Regions from separate parts of the Homo sapiens genome. Here regions 1, 2, 4, 5 and 6 are each linked to region 3. Evidence: promoter capture Hi-C in 16 types of primary human blood cells and fetal thymus (Javierre and others, 2016). All regions are on one chromosome and are shown on one strand. Each heading gives the region's core, a stretch centred on a gene start or on the middle of the fragment in contact. The rest is flanking DNA. Distances are from core to core; before and after follow the strand shown. Region 1 overlaps MIX23 (mitochondrial matrix import factor 23). Region 2 overlaps CASR (calcium sensing receptor). Region 3 holds the start of HCLS1 (hematopoietic cell-specific Lyn substrate 1). Region 4 holds the start of PARP15 (poly(ADP-ribose) polymerase family member 15). Region 5 has its middle 13 kb from the start of CSTA. Region 6 overlaps KPNA1 (karyopherin subunit alpha 1).

The links. The method cuts DNA at HindIII sites, captures the fragments that hold promoters and counts their contacts. A CHiCAGO score of 5 or more calls a contact.
Region 1: a contact is called between a fragment that was not itself captured here and the fragment with the promoter of HCLS1 in region 3, in 3 of 17 cell types (activated CD4 T cells, erythroblasts and naive CD8 T cells). The highest score is 7.0, in activated CD4 T cells.
Region 2: a fragment that was not itself captured here is called in contact with the fragment with the promoter of HCLS1 in region 3 in 1 of 17 cell types (erythroblasts); the score reaches 5.1 in erythroblasts.
Region 4: a contact is called between the fragment with the promoter of PARP15 here and the fragment with the promoter of HCLS1 in region 3, in 1 of 17 cell types (total CD4 T cells). The highest score is 6.5, in total CD4 T cells.
Region 5: a contact is called between a fragment that was not itself captured here and the fragment with the promoter of HCLS1 in region 3, in 1 of 17 cell types (M0 macrophages). The highest score is 5.9, in M0 macrophages.
Region 6: a contact is called between a fragment that was not itself captured here and the fragment with the promoter of HCLS1 in region 3, in 3 of 17 cell types (naive CD4 T cells, monocytes and total CD8 T cells). The highest score is 6.7, in naive CD4 T cells.

Annotation. Positions count from the first base shown.
Region 1 is chr3:122,365,019-122,367,718 of GRCh38, reverse strand. All of the region lies in intron 3 of MIX23 (mitochondrial matrix import factor 23), which reads left to right. Among named protein-coding and RNA genes, the nearest start is that of MIX23, 17 kb to the left of the region's middle. RefSeq lists a cis regulatory region at 1,997-2,010 and an enhancer at 1,931-2,075. The HindIII fragment of the contact is 6,376 bases long and covers 1-2,700 here.
Region 2 is chr3:122,234,621-122,237,320 of GRCh38, reverse strand. All of the region lies in intron 1 of CASR (calcium sensing receptor), which reads right to left. Among named protein-coding and RNA genes, the nearest start is that of CASR, 52 kb to the right of the region's middle. The HindIII fragment of the contact is 3,458 bases long and covers 1-2,700 here.
Region 3 is chr3:121,659,576-121,662,275 of GRCh38, reverse strand. It overlaps HCLS1 (hematopoietic cell-specific Lyn substrate 1), which reads left to right and starts at 1,373. Exons shown (of 14, transcript NM_005335.6): 1 at 1,373-1,456. RefSeq lists enhancers at 1,101-1,150, 1,341-1,530. The HindIII fragment of the contact is 5,970 bases long and covers 576-2,700 here.
Region 4 is chr3:122,576,202-122,578,901 of GRCh38, reverse strand. It overlaps PARP15 (poly(ADP-ribose) polymerase family member 15), which reads right to left and starts at 1,252. Exons shown (of 12, transcript NM_001113523.3): 1 at 1,049-1,252. The coding sequence starts at 1,234. RefSeq lists a silencer at 896-945 and an enhancer at 1,006-1,285. The HindIII fragment of the contact is 6,929 bases long and covers 1-2,700 here.
Region 5 is chr3:122,310,594-122,313,293 of GRCh38, reverse strand. No RefSeq gene overlaps it. Among named protein-coding and RNA genes, the nearest start is that of CSTA, 13 kb to the left of the region's middle. The HindIII fragment of the contact is 3,199 bases long and covers 1-2,700 here.
Region 6 is chr3:122,509,694-122,512,393 of GRCh38, reverse strand. All of the region lies in intron 1 of KPNA1 (karyopherin subunit alpha 1), which reads left to right. Among named protein-coding and RNA genes, the nearest start is that of KPNA1, 3.9 kb to the left of the region's middle. The HindIII fragment of the contact is 2,261 bases long and covers 170-2,430 here.

The DNA.
Region 1 (2,700 bases), core at 101-2,600, 710 kb before region 3:
GGATATTACCCTCGTTAGCCATAAAAATATAGTATGATTTAAATATAACCAGATTTACTTGTACCTCATTATAATTTATTTCCCTACTGTGTAAAAGTTGCTAGGGATCTTTGGCTTTTTCTTGGACATGACTTTTTCCCATTTCCTCCCCTATCCCTGCAGTGTTTTTACTTTTAAGAAAATAGCAAGTACCTACCTAGGGATGTGTCAGAGGAAGCCTTATTTTCCCAAATCAACTATAATGTAGATAGGGTGTAGACTTCAGAATACAGTTAATGCAGCAGAACTGTTTCTTTACAGCACTTGTATGTGACGTGTCAAGGAAACAATAGAAAAATACAGCATATTTTATTATGTGGGATTTATTGCTGTCTTTCTTTTGAGGGGACTCTTAGGGGGTAACTTTTTATCTTGTATAATTTCAAACTTACCAAAAAGTTGTAAGAATAGTGTAAGGAACTCCCATGTGCCCTTTACCTATATTCACTTATTGTTTATATGTTGCCCCACCTGCTTTACAGTTCATTCTCTTCACCCTCCCTCTCTCCTTCTCTTCACCCTCCCTCTCTCCTTCTCTTCATCCTTCCCTGCCTTCCTCCCTCTCCCTGTCTCCCCACACACCTGTATGCATAAATACAGTTTTTTCATGAACCATTTTGAGACTATGTTATACACATTGTACCACTTTACCCTTAAACTCATTAGTTATTTCTAAGAACAGGGACTTTTCCTACAGGACCAGTGTACAATTATCAAAATCATGGTTTTTTTTTTGTTTTTTGAGATGGGGTCTCACTCTGTCACCTAGGCTGGAGTGCAGTGTTGCAATCTCAGCTTACTGCAACCTCTGGTTCTGGGGCTCAAGCAATCCTGCCTCAGCCTCCCCAGTAGCTGGGACTACGGGCGCGAACCACCACACCCAGCTTATTTTTTGTATTTTGGGTAGAGATGGAGTCTCACCATGTTACACGGGTTTATCTCAAACTCCTGAGCTCAAAGTGATCCACCTTCCTCAGCCTCCCAAAGTGCTAGGATTATAGGTGTGAGCCATCACACCTGACTTCATGTTTGTATTTTAAGATGGCATAATAGGTGACTTACGGATCCTTGTGGGATTGAGTCATGCTTTTCATACTGCACAGTCATGAAGTTTGCCCTTTGTTTAGTAGATGTAGCTGAACTTTGAAAAGGGGACCTCGTCATCTATTGAAAACTATTAGTAGAAAAGAAAAGAAACCTCTTTCCTTGTAGCTGGCTGCACACAAGGTGAGTAGGCCAGGCTGCTGCACTTTTTCGATCATTCCGCCAATTCTGGATGTCTCACTGGATCCAGGACTCAGCCACTGTCTTTGCTGCTCTCTTTGTTCATGACTACTGCGTCAGGTCTGTATTCCATACCTGCTCATGCCACAGGCACTGGTGGATCCCTTGGACAGTGACCTTATGCAGTGATGTTGATCTTACTCCCCTTGCTGTTCATGAAGGCATATAGATTATTTATTTATTTATTTATTTATTTATTTATTTATTTATTTATTTTTGAGATGGAGTCTCGCACTATCGCCTGGGCTGGAGTGCAGTGGTGCAATCTTGGCTCACTGAAACTTCCGCCTCCCAGGTTCAAGAGATTCTCCTGCCTCAGCCTCCCTAGTAGCTGGGGTTACAGGTGCCTGCCACCACGTCCAGCTAATTTTTTTTTGTATTTTTAGTAGAGACAGGGTTTCACCATGTTGGCCAGACTGGTCTCGAACTCCTGACCTTGTGATCTGCCCGTCTCAGCTTCCCAAAGTGCTGGGATTACAGGCATGAGCCACCGTGTCCAGCCGGCATATAGATAATTTATATAAAACTGGTGAAAGTCTAGTAATTTTGGAGTTTGTATTTCAACGCCCTTGAAGGTGTTGACAAAGGAAACTGCAGGGCAAAGGCTGTTAAATTGGAAACTGAAAAGTCACTGTTTGCAGATCAAGTCAAACAACAGAGTGACTCATTAGTGGAGAGCAAAGTTCAAAACTCTACTGAGTGTTTGGGAATGATTGTGACACACAATTTGCTCAGCCTTGAGATCTGCCCTTGTGTCTTTAGGGCCCAGATAGAATCACCAGGATGACCACTGCAAGGAGGGTTTAGAAACCAATCAGTGAGTTGCATGAGGTTTGCTTTCTAGCTTGATAACATATAGGGTTGGGGGTAACCATGGGGTAGTACATAAGCAAATAAGGAAATGTGAATTTTTTTTTTCAATTTTCAAGTTTGCTATGAAGATTATGGAATCAGAGAGAGCTCTTGGAGATGGTACAGCTCTACCTCTTCATTTTCTATCTGAGGAAAAAGACTCAGAGATACTTGAGATACTAACTGACACCCCCAAAGCCACAAGCTAGTAAGTGGTAGAACTGGGACTTTAACCCATCTCTTCTGACCCTGCATTCAGTCAGTTTCTTTAAGTTGTGACTAATAGTCAGATACTTTAGTGAGTATATTTCATTTATAGACAGATGCCAGTCAAAAAATCCCCACTAGTTTACCTGAATATTTAACTCAAAAAAAGCACCTTCGTTGCTGGACCTCTATAACTGCTGTCACATGTTAGTGGCCTTAAGTTTACCTGTTGAAGACCTACAGTCTCAAAGACAACTGTCTCAAAGGTGACAGTTTGTTGGTAGCACTGATAAAATTGTATTAGAAATTGGCTGTAAT
Region 2 (2,700 bases), core at 126-2,625, 580 kb before region 3:
CTGGCCAACATGATGAAACTCCATGTCTACTAAAAATACAAAAATTAGTCGGGCGTGGTGGTGCACTCCTGTAATCCCAGCTACTTGGGAGGCTGAGGCAGAAGAATCGCTTGAACCCGGGTGGTGGAGGTTGCAGTGAGCCAAGATCACACCACTGCACTCCAGCTTGGTGACAGAGCAAGACTCTGTCAAAAAAAAAAAAAAAAAAGCATAAGTACTGTTAGCTACAATTAGCATCTCTACAAATTTCCAGGCCCAAAATAACAAGCCTCCAGTGTTTCATTACCCCATTTTAAAGAAGATTTTACCTCACAGTTAACTAAAATCACATCTATTTTAAAATTAAGGCCATTTATTCTTGCCTAATTTACCACTGCAATGAAAGGCCAGAGACAAAAATTTTCATTAATTTAAAGATAGAATCACCTTCACTTTTTTTTCAGGCTTAACTATCCAAATTTCTTTCAAACCTTTCTGCTTAGGACTACTTCATATTTTTCTAGATATATTTGTTAATATGCCAAGAACCTATTCTAAGTTCTTCATGTCATTTTTTAGAGCATGTTAACAGAAATTGGTACCATGATTTGGGGCTGACCTGAGGTTAAAAGAATTTGCGTCCCACTGGAGATTTCAAGATGTGTTTGTTAGCTTTTGTCCATAACTCCACAATTTGGCTGACTCATGTCCATATTCTGGCCTTCTAGGGCCTCCTTGATTTCCTAATATACATTTGCTTGAGTAGTCCCTTCAGAACCTATATCTGTTTTTTTAATCCCCAAATATCTCAGATTGAAAATGTTCAAACTGAATTTTATTTTTGAAGAACTATGCCTCCCCACTAAATTCATTATGAATTTTGTTCCCATTTTTGAAGGAACATGTCTCCCTGTCAGGAAATGTCAGGAAATATGTGTTGATTTATTAGCTGGCCCCTTCAGCTTTGCCCGGAAGAATCATGAACCAGCATTTAAAGAATGAATTTTGGAACATGCTACATTCAGTTGCCTCTATGAGAAGATTCTCCATTGCTAAGGACACCTGAAGCTGTTCTGGAGGAAGACTGTCTGGAATAAACTTTCCCCAAATAAGCCCATGGATGTTTCTAACCCTGACTTTGATGCTGGGTCAGCCAATATATCCTCACACATGGTGGAAACCCATTCAATTGATTTCTTTTAATGTGGTAACCCTCAGAAAGAAACTTCTTGTTACTGTAAAAAGAGCCTCCTATCTGTTGGGCATGGGGCCGGGTGCAGGGAAGTGAGTCTTAAATTGTGGTCCTTGGACGAGCATCAGCACCATCACTTGGGAACTTGTTAGAAACACGAATCCCATCCCAACCTACTGAATCAGAAACTCTGGGTGTGGGACCAGCAACCTGTGTTTTAAGAAGTTTGAAAGCCATTGCTAGACCGTCTTTCATATGCATCTGTCCAGGGTCATATTCTGTTCTGAGCTCTAAAAATTGTGTTTCCTAAAAATGATTGTTTAAATGTAATTTTATTTATGTATTATCATTTTTAGAGACATGGTCTCACTATGTTGCCCAGGTTGGAGTGCAGTGCCATGATCATAGCTCACCGCAGTCTAGAACTCCTGGGCTCGTGATCCTCCTGCCTCAGATTCCTGAGTAACTAAAACTATAGGAACATGCCACTACCCCAGGCTATTTTTTAAAAAATTTTGTAGAGACAGGACCTTGCTGTATTGCCCAGGATTCTTCTGATACTATTACTTTTCTCCAAGGATAACACAGCCAAACAAAAATGTATTTTGAATGGATACACAACAGTTTCCTGTCAATGTCAATTCATTCTTCGGTTTCCCTGAAACCTTTCTCCTGCAAAATAACTGCTAACATCTTATGAAACCAGTATTCCAGGAAAGCACAGTTCAGAAGTCATTGCTGTAAAGTTAGGGTAACTTTCTGAATCTATAATCAATATGCATGGTCTGTGAACTAGAGAAAATGGCCACTAACCATAGATAGACTACTTCTCACCCTCTCTTCCCAGCCACATGCAGGGGATTTACCTATGTGGTTATCATTTGCGTCTACCTTTCCGAGCAGAGTCTTGGGTGCTCTACTTTACACTTAAGTCTTTCATTATTAATTCCCTTTTTAAATTTGTGGAATGAGTATATATTCTTCACAATCAATCCATCAGTCCCAGATGGGAAGGTCTGGGACCCTGTTTACCTGCAACTGTTAGAAGTCACAGCACCTGTGACTGTTAGAAGTGTCCAGCACTCCCTGGTCCTTCTCTACTCTCCTGCGAGCCCTTTCTATGAGCTCTTCAGGGGCTCTTTCTTTGGGAACTGAAATGGTCCTAAACATTCCACAATCTGTGCTGATGCAGTGCACTCTCAGTGTCTCTCTGCCTTCTTCGGCTTTGCCCAGAAGAATCAGGAACCAGCATTTAAAAAATAAATCCTGGAACATACTACATTCAGTTGTCTCTATGAGAAGATTCTCTGTTGCTAATGACACCCGAAGCTGGTCCGGAGGAACACTGTCTCAGATAAACTTTCCCCAAAGAAGCCCACACATGTTTCTATAAACCTGACTTTGAAGTTGGATTAGTCCACATAGCCTGAGCCTCAGTGAGTGACTCCTGTCCAGCTGGTCAGGGTAAGAGATGACTAGGGTCAGCCTGCTATACAGAGGCCTTACAAATAACTCTTTCCACTCTGATT
Region 3 (2,700 bases), core at 124-2,623:
TTCTTGGTGTCATCTCTGATTAATTTCTATATTTTCTCTAGAGAACTATGTACCTGGATGGTGTGTCACATCATCTAGTCTAAATCGTATTTTGACACTACATGAGGATTCCAAGTGATTTTTCTCTTGTACAAACGTACTCTTCCTTATCATAACTTTGGTACCACCATGATAAATAGGTAATAAAGTAGAAGGAATAAATAAAGCTCCCCCAGGCATAGAATCCTTAGATTTGGAAGTGACAGAGGCTTCATATTCCTAATGCAGAAAAGTGCCTGTATCATGGGCCAGTTTCATCCAGTCCTGCTTAAACTCCTTGGAGGATGCACCGTTGTGAACAAATCAAGAAGTCCACAATCAAGATTAGGAAAGGCTAGGTCAGATACAATAACAGACACCCTCAAATTCTCAGTAGCCAAAACAAAGGACTATTTTTTAGTGAAAGACTCCAATTCCCCCACATGGTGGATGGGGCTCCACTTGTGTTCTTTCTCACTCAGGGACCCAGTCTGCTGGAGGAGCCAATATGGAGAATTGCAGGTTGCCTTGGGCAGTGGTGAAAGCATGGCAAAGCTTGCAGTGGTCTTACGGCCTCCGCCAGAAAGTGGTATCTGTCACTGGCCAAAACAAGTCACCTGAGTAAGTCTGACTTCAAGAGGGAAGGGAGGGGCAGCAAGTCTTGACACGCAGTAAAACAGGATACCACAAAGACCTTCTTCCATCAGCTGACCAGCACCTGGTTCTTTCAGAATTCTTCCTACGCTCTAGAGCCAAATCTTTAGTTTGTTAGCTCAGACTCCACAGTGCCCCAAACAAGCTAGGAAACTCTCCTTCCATGTCTTGCCTTTTCCCTCATGAGTTATTCTCTTCTGGCATTCAATTGGTCGACGTTTATTTGAACATCTATATGAAAACTCCACTTTTAAGTGCTGTGGGTAATATAGGGGTGAGTTTCTTTTTAAGTCTTATGCTTCAAAACCCACATATAAATCACTTTTCCCATAAAGCCTTTCTTGATGAATACACCCAATACCAAATGCTCTGAATTCCTTTACTGTCTCAAATGTAACTGCCACCCTATTTAGGACACAATGCTGTTCTACAGCATTCTCTAATGTGTTTTCTGGTTGAATGTTTGTTTCTCTCACTGGATTACAAACTCAGAGTCAAAGCAGCATTTTCTATGACTGCTCTATGACCCCCATTGTCAAAACCTTGCAAAAGACCAGGCACAGAAACATTTAATCCTTTTAAAATTTAAGTGTCTAAAGCAGAAGGAACTGACTCAAATTTCAGGAAGTAGCTGTGAGGATGGGGTGGCAGGAAATGACGAAAACCTGAATACGGAACTGAAGCAGCAGCTCAGTTTCTCACTCCGAAGTGGCAGCAGCCAGAGAGGGAGTCGGTGTGGACGCGAGGAGCCGGGCGCTTAGAACAGAGGCTTGCACAGGTGGAGGTGGGTACTCTGAGCCATGGGACAGTTGGGAAACACAGAGTAAGAGTTGAGGAGGAACCTACCTGGCTCTTAGTCCTTGGTGATGGGCAAGGTCACCACTAGTAGGCTTTTATCCTTTTATGGCCAGAAGGCCTGGTTGTGAGTGGTTGTAGCAAATCAGCATCTGGAGATAGAAACAAAAGGGAGGGGCTTAAACCCAAGGCAAGTGTTTCAGGAGCCATCTAGCACCAACATCAAGCAAAGTGTTGCCTGGTTTCTGCTGACAATCTACAACCCACTCTAAGGCCTGTCTCCCCTAGGTACTGAGCTGGGAGGAGGACCACAGGAGACGAAAACAGTGTCTGCCCTTGAAGAGCATATGGTCTCAGGGAAACAAACCCACACAGGAAATGTAACAGATCAGGAAGTAGTCACTGATGTACACTAGCACTGAGTACCAAGTGCTGATGGAGCCCAAGAGAAGGCATGATTGTTCTGCTGGGGCTAGTTTCTGTGTTCGTAGATCACAGAATCTCAGAATGTCAGAAATCAAGGAGACCACAGATGAGCTACGTTAACCCCTTCATTATTTTCCACTGGGAAAATCAGAGATAATTGCTGATTTGCCAAATTATTAAAGTTAGTATTTCTTAATCGCCTGGTCTGATACCTGGCAAATGAGTACCTACTCTGTTGATGCCCTTGTGATGGTCCCTCAGAGGCTTAGTCACAGAGCTGGGGTGACAGCCAGGGCTTCTGACTCCCAGTCTGTGTACTTTGATGCAGGAGGTCAGCATCGCAACAAGGCCTCACCAGATTACTCTCTGGTTCTCACCTCTAGATAGCACTTCTTACCTTTCTGGTTTCTGGTCAATAGGTCAAGGATATTAGATAAATTGTCTCTATTTCAGAAACTCTTTATTTCAAAAATGGGTGAATGGGAGAGTCAGGCTGAGGCCTCAGAGGAGCCACAGGAAGGAGGATGGGACCATCAGTCCTCATTGCTTCCTTATTGCTCATGACTATTTCAGAAACTTCTCCATTCCAGTTTTCTGTGTGACAGTCCTTTTGTTGTTGCACAGCAGCCCAGGAGCCAGGGGATGAGAAGCAGAGGGGTAGTAAGGATGCAGGTAGTAAGGATGTTTTGCTGTCTCCAACCGCATCAGGGAAAGCCAAGCTGCTTTCAGCCATGACTCCCGGCTGACTCAGTCAATATCTCTCCGGTGTCCCCTTAGCATCTCTTTAACTGATTTACCCAGACTTCC
Region 4 (2,700 bases), core at 3-2,502, 920 kb before region 3:
CCAATTCACAATTTAATATCATATACATTACATACTCAAATTTTCAATCTTTCACAGCACAGTAGGTTAGACCATGTCAACACCACCTAAAGATATCAGCTCTCTGTAATTTATTAATTTAATGCAATCCCAATAAAAATTCCAAAGAGCTTTTCTTTTTTTTTTTTAAACTGATCATACATCAGAAAAGTTCATAAGGAAAAATAAACAACAAGAATAGCTAGGAAAATAGTGACAAGGAAGCACTCTCTAGGAAGACTAGCCCTGACATTAAAACATACAGCAAAGCCTCTCTAAAGCAGATGAATAAACGGGTCAATGGATGAAAATAGAAGGTCCAGAAATACCCGAACCACATATGAAAGTCTAGTACATGATAAAGCTGGTATCTCAAGTTACTGGGACAGTGACGACCTTTATAATAAATGGTGTTGGGACACTTGATACCCATTTGAAAAAAAATAATTAGATTCACTCCTCAAACCACACACAATAACACACTCCAAATGTATTATAGATCTAAATGTAAAAAATACATCAGTTCAAGTACTAGAAGCAAGCATGAGTGAACTCTTCTATAACTTGGGTGTAGGGAAGAGTATGACTAAAAGTCATATATTAAAATATGACTAAAAGTCTAGACGTCATAAAATAAAAGACTGGTAAGTCTTGCCACACAAAATTTAAAATATTTGCATGGCAAAGAGAAACAAAAGCCCCCCATAAGCAAACTCAAAAAACAAAAAATAAATTGGGAGGACATATTCATAACACATATCACGAATAAAGGACTCATATCCTTTCAAACTTTATAAAGAACTTTTAAATTTTAAGGGAAAAAAAAAAAAAACCACCAGAAATGCTAAGGAAAAAGAAGCAGCACGCATCCCCCTCTTCCGGAACAGGGAAGTCAGTGTAGTCGGCGCCCCCTAGAAGAGAGGGTTGTGCGTGGCGTGGGGTCTCTGCGCCCGCTCGGGCTGCTGGGTCTTGCGGGCCCCAGGCTCAGCCCTGCTGTCCCCTTCCCGCACCCGTCCCCCGCGCTCCTCACCATACTCCGGGAGGAAGAGCGCCGGGAGGCCTTCCGCGCCCCACGGTTCCCGGCCGGCAGCACGCTCCCCGCCTCCCGATCTCGTCCGGCTCTGGAAGTAACACCTGCAACTCCGTGCATAAGTTCTCTGGGGGTCGGAGCCCCTGGACTCAGAGCAGCGGCAGGAAGGGGGCCTGGCGCAGCCATCCTCAGCTCGCTGGGACTGCAGTTGCGCCCCACCCAACAGGCTTGTGCCTCGAACTTCTTTTCTCTGAAAACCGCTTCCGTCAAAGATTGAGGCCTCGAGTTTGCGAACAGCTGCCTCAGGATTGTGTCGCCCTTTGGGACAGACGTTACTGCCAGACAAATCCTGGGTCAAAATCCTGAGGTCTGCAATTTTATTAGTTATGTAGCCTCAGTCAATAGCATCTGTACAGTGGGCACAGCCATAACTATTTCATGTTATTATAATGAAGATTAAATGAGATAAAGTCTGTAGAATGCCTGGCACATTAAAACACAGGAATCAGTATTCCTTTCCTTTTCTGTTGGGCATCCCACTCCTTTCCCCCCAATTCTCCCTACACACCCATATTTAGAAAAATACACTGGGTTCTCTCCTGTGCTCCCTAAGCCAGGGCTGGAGTCAGGTTCCCCTCTGGCCCAACAGGGCATTATTTAATTCAATCAACGCGTATTGAAGGCCTTTGATATGCCTGGCACTGTGTTAAGATTATAAAGATGAATTAGACACAGATCCCCTCTCTTTGGAGTGAGGGGTGAAGTAGGAGGTGGAGAAATAAAACATAGATTAATACTGTTACCTGGTGTATCACGAAAAGTCCTGGCAGTATACAGATGGTATACTCAAAATTAATAATTGAAGATAATTTAATAAAGAAATTATTTACACAGGTGTGGGCAAAGGGTTAAGGAAACCATTGAGAGATGGTGAAGTAGCCTCCTCCCCTTACCATCTAGGCTGAAGGGGCAAGGGAGGGGGCATCTCCTGAACTTGGTAAGAGCTATACCAAGTGCCAGCAGGTAGAACCCATGACTGCTTTCGGAAGACAGCCAGGGGAGTATAAGCATCCCAAGTACTCTCTCCGTGTGCCTTCCAATCTCGTGCTGGTACCTCCCACTGCAGAACCCAATGAGTAATCAGAGAATGGAGCTGATGTGGTACTTAGAGGTCAGCCCTCAGTACCACCTCCAAGGCAGAGAGCAGGGTAAAAGGTTTTGGTATCGTATTTGCATTGAGATACATATAAAGTATTAGGATAACAGAAATCAGTGGTTCGTTGTAATTTAGAGACAAGATTGGAGAAAAGTTTCTATAGTAGTGGCATTTCAGTAAGACCTTGCATGATGAGTAGGGGACTTTCTAAGAGGAAAATCAGGTGAAGAATGAGAATGAGGTGTGTCTCTCTCTCCCTCTCTCTCTTCAGAGTTCCCTTTTTCATCATCTGTCATGCAGAGAGCAGCGATGGGGGTGGATTACACAGAACAAAGATCACATGAATGAAAGCATAGACTGTGCTTTGGAAAATCTTGTAGTCTGGTGTGACTGAACCCTAGGGACTTGGTGGTGAGGAAGGAGCACAAAGTATGCAAAGTGGCATGAGCAATCGCTAACGGCCATGCTGCTGAGTTTAAACTCTATTTTCTAGGCC
Region 5 (2,700 bases), core at 192-2,691, 650 kb before region 3:
ATAGCCTCCAAGTACTCACAGGTCTTCCTGAACCAGATTCTCTCTCAGAGTTTCTCTCTAGCTGGGTCCTCTTAGATCCTCTTGCACCTCTTTCTCATTCTCATTCTTGCTCCTGTCTCCTTGTTCATACAATGCCCCTTGAAAAGGATGTCATTCCTTCTGTTCTCCATTAATCTACATGCAATACTGCTTTCAAAAACCACACTACCCAAAGCCTTCTGTGGTTTCCTCTAGTTCTTGGTTTGTACTACATATTCCTGTTATCTCAGTTATTACACATATATTTTCTGTTTATCTTCTTGCTGATCTGATTATAATCTCTTCCATGGCAGAAACTGTTGTCTTGATTGTTAGCCATCACATCTCCCAGATTATGAAACACAGCAGCTGCCCAGCAAATATGTGAACAAATTCATAGATCTCACCACTTTCTCATTGGGAGAAGAGGGCAACCAGCCAACATGGACTTCTGGAGTCCTTGAAGGGCATTGGATAAACATGTCTTTGTCAAGTTTTAGGCCAGGCGCTGTGGCTCACGCCTGTAATCCCAGCACTTTGGGAGGCTGAGGCGGGTGGATCATGAGGTCAGGAGTTCAAGACCTGCCTGGCCAACATAGTGAAATCCCGTCTCTACTAAAAATACAAAAATTAGCCGGGCACGGTGGCGCCTGCCTGTAGTCTCAGCTACTCAGGAGGCTGAAGCAGGAGAATCGCTTGAACCTGGGAGGTGGAGATTGTAGTGAGCCGAGATCACGCCACTGCACTCCAGCTTGGGCAACAGAGTGAGACTTCGTCAAAAAAAAAAAAAGAAAAAAAAAAAAAGAATCCAAAGTAAAGAAAATACAACAGAACAGCCAGGAGTTCAAGGTTATATTCCCTGATGATCACAGGGCTCCAGTTTCTCTGCATTGCTGGCCAAGGGATGGCCCAGATGCTTGGACAGTTTGATCAGTAACTTAACAAGTCTGTTCGTATAAGTGAGTTGGTTGGCAGTCTCTATACATGGCCTGAATTAAGCCTGAGGCCTGGTAGTTTGATCCCAGCCAGCACAGTTATGGACCTGCTGGGTTGCACAGTTCCAGGAGCATTATTCATACCGTATTCTAAAATGGAGCTCAAGTTCGTGGGATGTTTTACTAAGAATATTTTATTATTTTTCAGTAAAAAAAGGTATGAAAAAAAGAAGGCTTTTGTGGAATGGCTTTAACTTCATCCCAATTTTCAAAAGAGGGCTTTCTGGAGGTAGAGTACCACAGCAGTTAACAGGGTAGTGCAGGCCAGATGGACAGAAGTGAGGGGAGTCGGTGTAACTGACAAGCACTGGGAATTCCTGAATGAGAGAGCTGAGCATGTCCCTTTGGAGTGAGGGACAGCTGAATTCAATAATCTGCATAGCTGTGTAAACCTGGGCAGGTGACTTCACCTTTCTGAGCATCTGTTTCCTTGTCTGTAAAATGAAGATAATAATAACTACCTCACAGGGTTGTGAGAATTAAATGGAAAATGTATGTAGAAAATTTAACTCCGTGTCTGGTATATATGTAGTTAGTGTTCCTAAATGGAAACATATTTTTGTTTCCAGACACCTTATAAACTATAGCAACCATCCTTACGTTTTTTGTCCTCAGCTGCATTGTGAAGGGTCTAGAAATATAAAGGGAGATGAAGAAAGTAAAACCGGATAGAAGGATGCATTTCGATTTTTGGGTTAATTTTTCAATATTTGAAATAGAAGAGATAAAAGTCTCATCACTATAACCAAGCCAGGTTGGATACCTAAGTAGTTTTTCTTCTTTCCTTTCATAATGTAAAATGTGGCACTTAGTAGAGATGTTGGGTGGATAATATTGGGTGGTCTCTTGGTTACAGGGTCTACTTCTGACTGACTCCTTTACCTTCTCCTGTATATTGTCATCCTTTCACAGTCCATGCCTTGGTCTTCTCATTTCCCAAGTCAGAAAGATGGGTGTTATCCTCCAGTCTTCTTTCATGCTCAGCTCTCTCATCCAGGAATTCCCAGTGCTTGTCAGTTACATCGACTCCCCTCACTTCTGTCCATCTGGCCTGCACTACCCTGGCTCAGGCCATGGTTATCTCACCGCTGAAGAACAGCAATAGCTTCCCCTGGCCTCCTCCTGCAACCATGCTCCTCTTTCTACACACAATATCCAAATATTTCTTCTAGAAAGCAAAGCCAATTGTATTATTTCCTTAATGAAAGTCCTTCAATAGTTTTCCGTTATCCTTAGAGTGTACTTCTCAGTCTTTAGCACAGCCCTCTCTGACCTGGCTCCTATCAAGTTCTCCTAAGGTGCCCTATTCCTCTTGCTTCTTTGCTTAGGTTGGAAACACTTCCTTTTGCTTCCGTTTGCCAGCCTGATTTCTATTGATCCTTCATGCCTGTTATGGTTTGAACTGTGTCCCCACCTAAATTCATATGTTGAAGTTCTAACCCACAGTACCTCACAGTGTGACCGTATTTGTGTGCCCAGATTTGGCAATGACAGGGGAGCTCTTCTTCATCACATTCAAAATTTTTCACTAGTTATGCCTAAGACCAGTGCTGTTCCTGCTTCTGATACCATTCCTCTACCTTATCTGACCTACAAGCCTATGTGAGAAGGTGAGGCTGTCAGATTTCTCCTGAAATAAATGAGACAGAGCAGAGCCTGAAGAGAGAGGGTGGGGTCAGCAGTTACG
Region 6 (2,700 bases), core at 51-2,550, 850 kb before region 3:
GAACTATGATTTAATATACATCTTATCTAGAGCTGATACTTACCAAAGGGGCCATTAAAAACATCTTTTCTTCATTAATATCTAATGAAGAAATTTCTAATTTATGTATTGGTTCCTATAAAATACAGACCTTAGAGACAAATTCTTCCTAAGACCCCAGTATTAAGCTTTTTTTTTTTAAACTAATGATTGGTTTTATTAGATTATTTTTGTTTTGTAAGCCATCCTGTTTCTCTATACTTTGACTGTCAGGAGTCTCAGAGCTGTGTTCAATTTTTATAATTTTCTTTAGTCTCAACTATGTTAAGAATTATTTTATACGTAACCTGGAATTGCTGTCAGTTGTTTCTTGCATTATTTTCTTTATTCTCTGTTGCTCTCAATGGTCCTTTTACCTTTTCCCTTTTCCCTTTACATTTGAGAATAGGATTATATCTTATTCTTTGCATCTTCAGTGTTTTAGCACAGTGTTTGTTGAATTAATGATAAAATAGAGTTTTAATGATTTATGATGTCTGTGCTTTTAAGTCTACCAGATTGTTTTTAGATGTATGAGTACTGTGTATAAAATCAGTTAAGACCTTTGATTGGTCTTGCAAGTAAAGATGACTGACCTAGTGATAAAGATAACTCCTTGTTTTGTTTTAAGGTATCTTTGTACTTTGCATGGTGTTATGAATTTAGCCATAATAGGGAAGAAAACACTGGAAATGGTAAACAGTTAAATTAGCTGATTTGGGCTGATTTCTGTCTTTTGCTGCAGTAAGCAGGAGATGGCCTGAGGCCAACTGAGGGCCAGATAGGGCCTGCATTAGAAAATTTTGAGGTTGTACATTGGAAGAGTAGGGATGAAGACTGTGGGAATGTATGTTTCTTTCTTTCTTTTTTTTAAAGATGTTACAAACCTACAAAACAACATGAAAAAATGGTTCTGTCCAAGTGTTGTAGACTAATTGGGACAGTTCTTGAAAGCAGGCAGTAATCCAGAATGTGGATAATGGAGATAATCTCCTTCATATTAACAAGAATAATGCTGCCCTTCATATACAAAGATAAGTCTGCTTACTCATCATGATTGTTTTTCCAGCGTGAGGAGGGATATGTGCTGAGTCCATGAGTGCCTATATACTCTGTGAGCAACAAGGCAGGTTGGGGTCAGAATAGGCAGCTTGGGGTCAGAATAGGCAGCTTGGGGTCAGCTAGGGAACAGAAAGACCCGCTGAAAGTACTCTGACATCTATTGATGGGTCAGGTTCTGCATCAGGTGCTTTCACTTACTTGTTCTTGCAAAACCATTTTGAGGAGGTGATTACGTGTGCAAGGTGATTGGGTAACTCGCCTTACTTCACAAAGTAGTGGAGTTGGGATTCAAATAGGGCTGTTTGTACTGTGTTCACATTGATCGTTAAAGATTGGTTTTAGCCGTTCAGTCTCTTTGGCAGAACAAACTAGATGTAGTTTAACACCATGAAATAATACTGAAGATCTAATATAACCGTCGTGAGATTGTTCAAGTTCCTTGTTTTATCAACATTAAAAAAATAAAATTTTGGAATTAGAATACCTGAAAAGCAGCTGTTCCCTGTCCCAGCCTCTGCACTTGAAAAGCTACCATTTTCTTTCTTCTAGCTGTTTCCTCTTGTGTTTGCTTTCATATTTATAAATACAGTGACTTGCTTTTATTGCTATATCATGATATAGCAATTATAGATATTATTGGCTTTCGTCTAAGCAAGATGTTCCTTAGTGTTTCACATATATATTCACCTCACCTGCCATATGCACACACTGTCTCTACCATCCTCCAAATATAGTTATCACAGGTGTGTCTACTAAACCAATATTTAGTGTTTACAATATTGTAACTCTATAAATGTTCACAGCTGACCCATGTAGAGTACTGTGATATCATTTCTTCTCTTAATAAATTTTTGTTTTTCTACAAGTTAGTATTTTTTGTTGTTGTTTGCTTCATTTCCTGAGACAGCTAACCTGGAACCTCTTAATGCAATTAGGACTGGTTACTTTCTAGGCCTATTTCATAGTTGTTATCCAGGGACTTCTCTTTTCATCATCCTTAAACTTCTTTGCCCTCTTTTGTACTGGTTCCCCTGTTTACTGTTTCCTGTATTTTCTTTCTTGGTTTACTTATTTCCTTGGAGTACATTTTTTAGTAGCTTTCTGAGAAAGGATACATGGAAAACAAAAACTTCCTGACATCTTACATGACTGAAAAAAATCTTTATTCTTCCTTCGCATTTGATCAGTAATTTGTCTGGGTATAAAATTCTGAGTTGAAAGTAACTTCTACTTCAAGTTTGCAAGTCATAGTTCTATTGTTTTCTTTCTTCCAGGGTTACTCTTGAAATCCAAAGCCAATCTGATTCTTTGTTTGTATGTGATCTTCCTTTACCCCAATCTCTAGAAGCTTTTAGGATATTTTTAACCCTCAAAATTCCATGATGATGTGTCTAGGTATGGGTATTTTTTTGTTTAAGGGCATTCCATGGACCTTTATAAGCTGGGAGTTCATGTCCTTTAGTTCTCGAAAGTTTTTGTTATTATTTGGATGTTAGGCAAAAAGAATTTTAGAATGAATTATGCTTCTCAGTTCTTGTCACACATCAGATCGTACAAGGTCCTTTAAATTTTTATCTTAAATTTCTGAGCCCTACTTCTGTTACCTCTTTGTATAACATT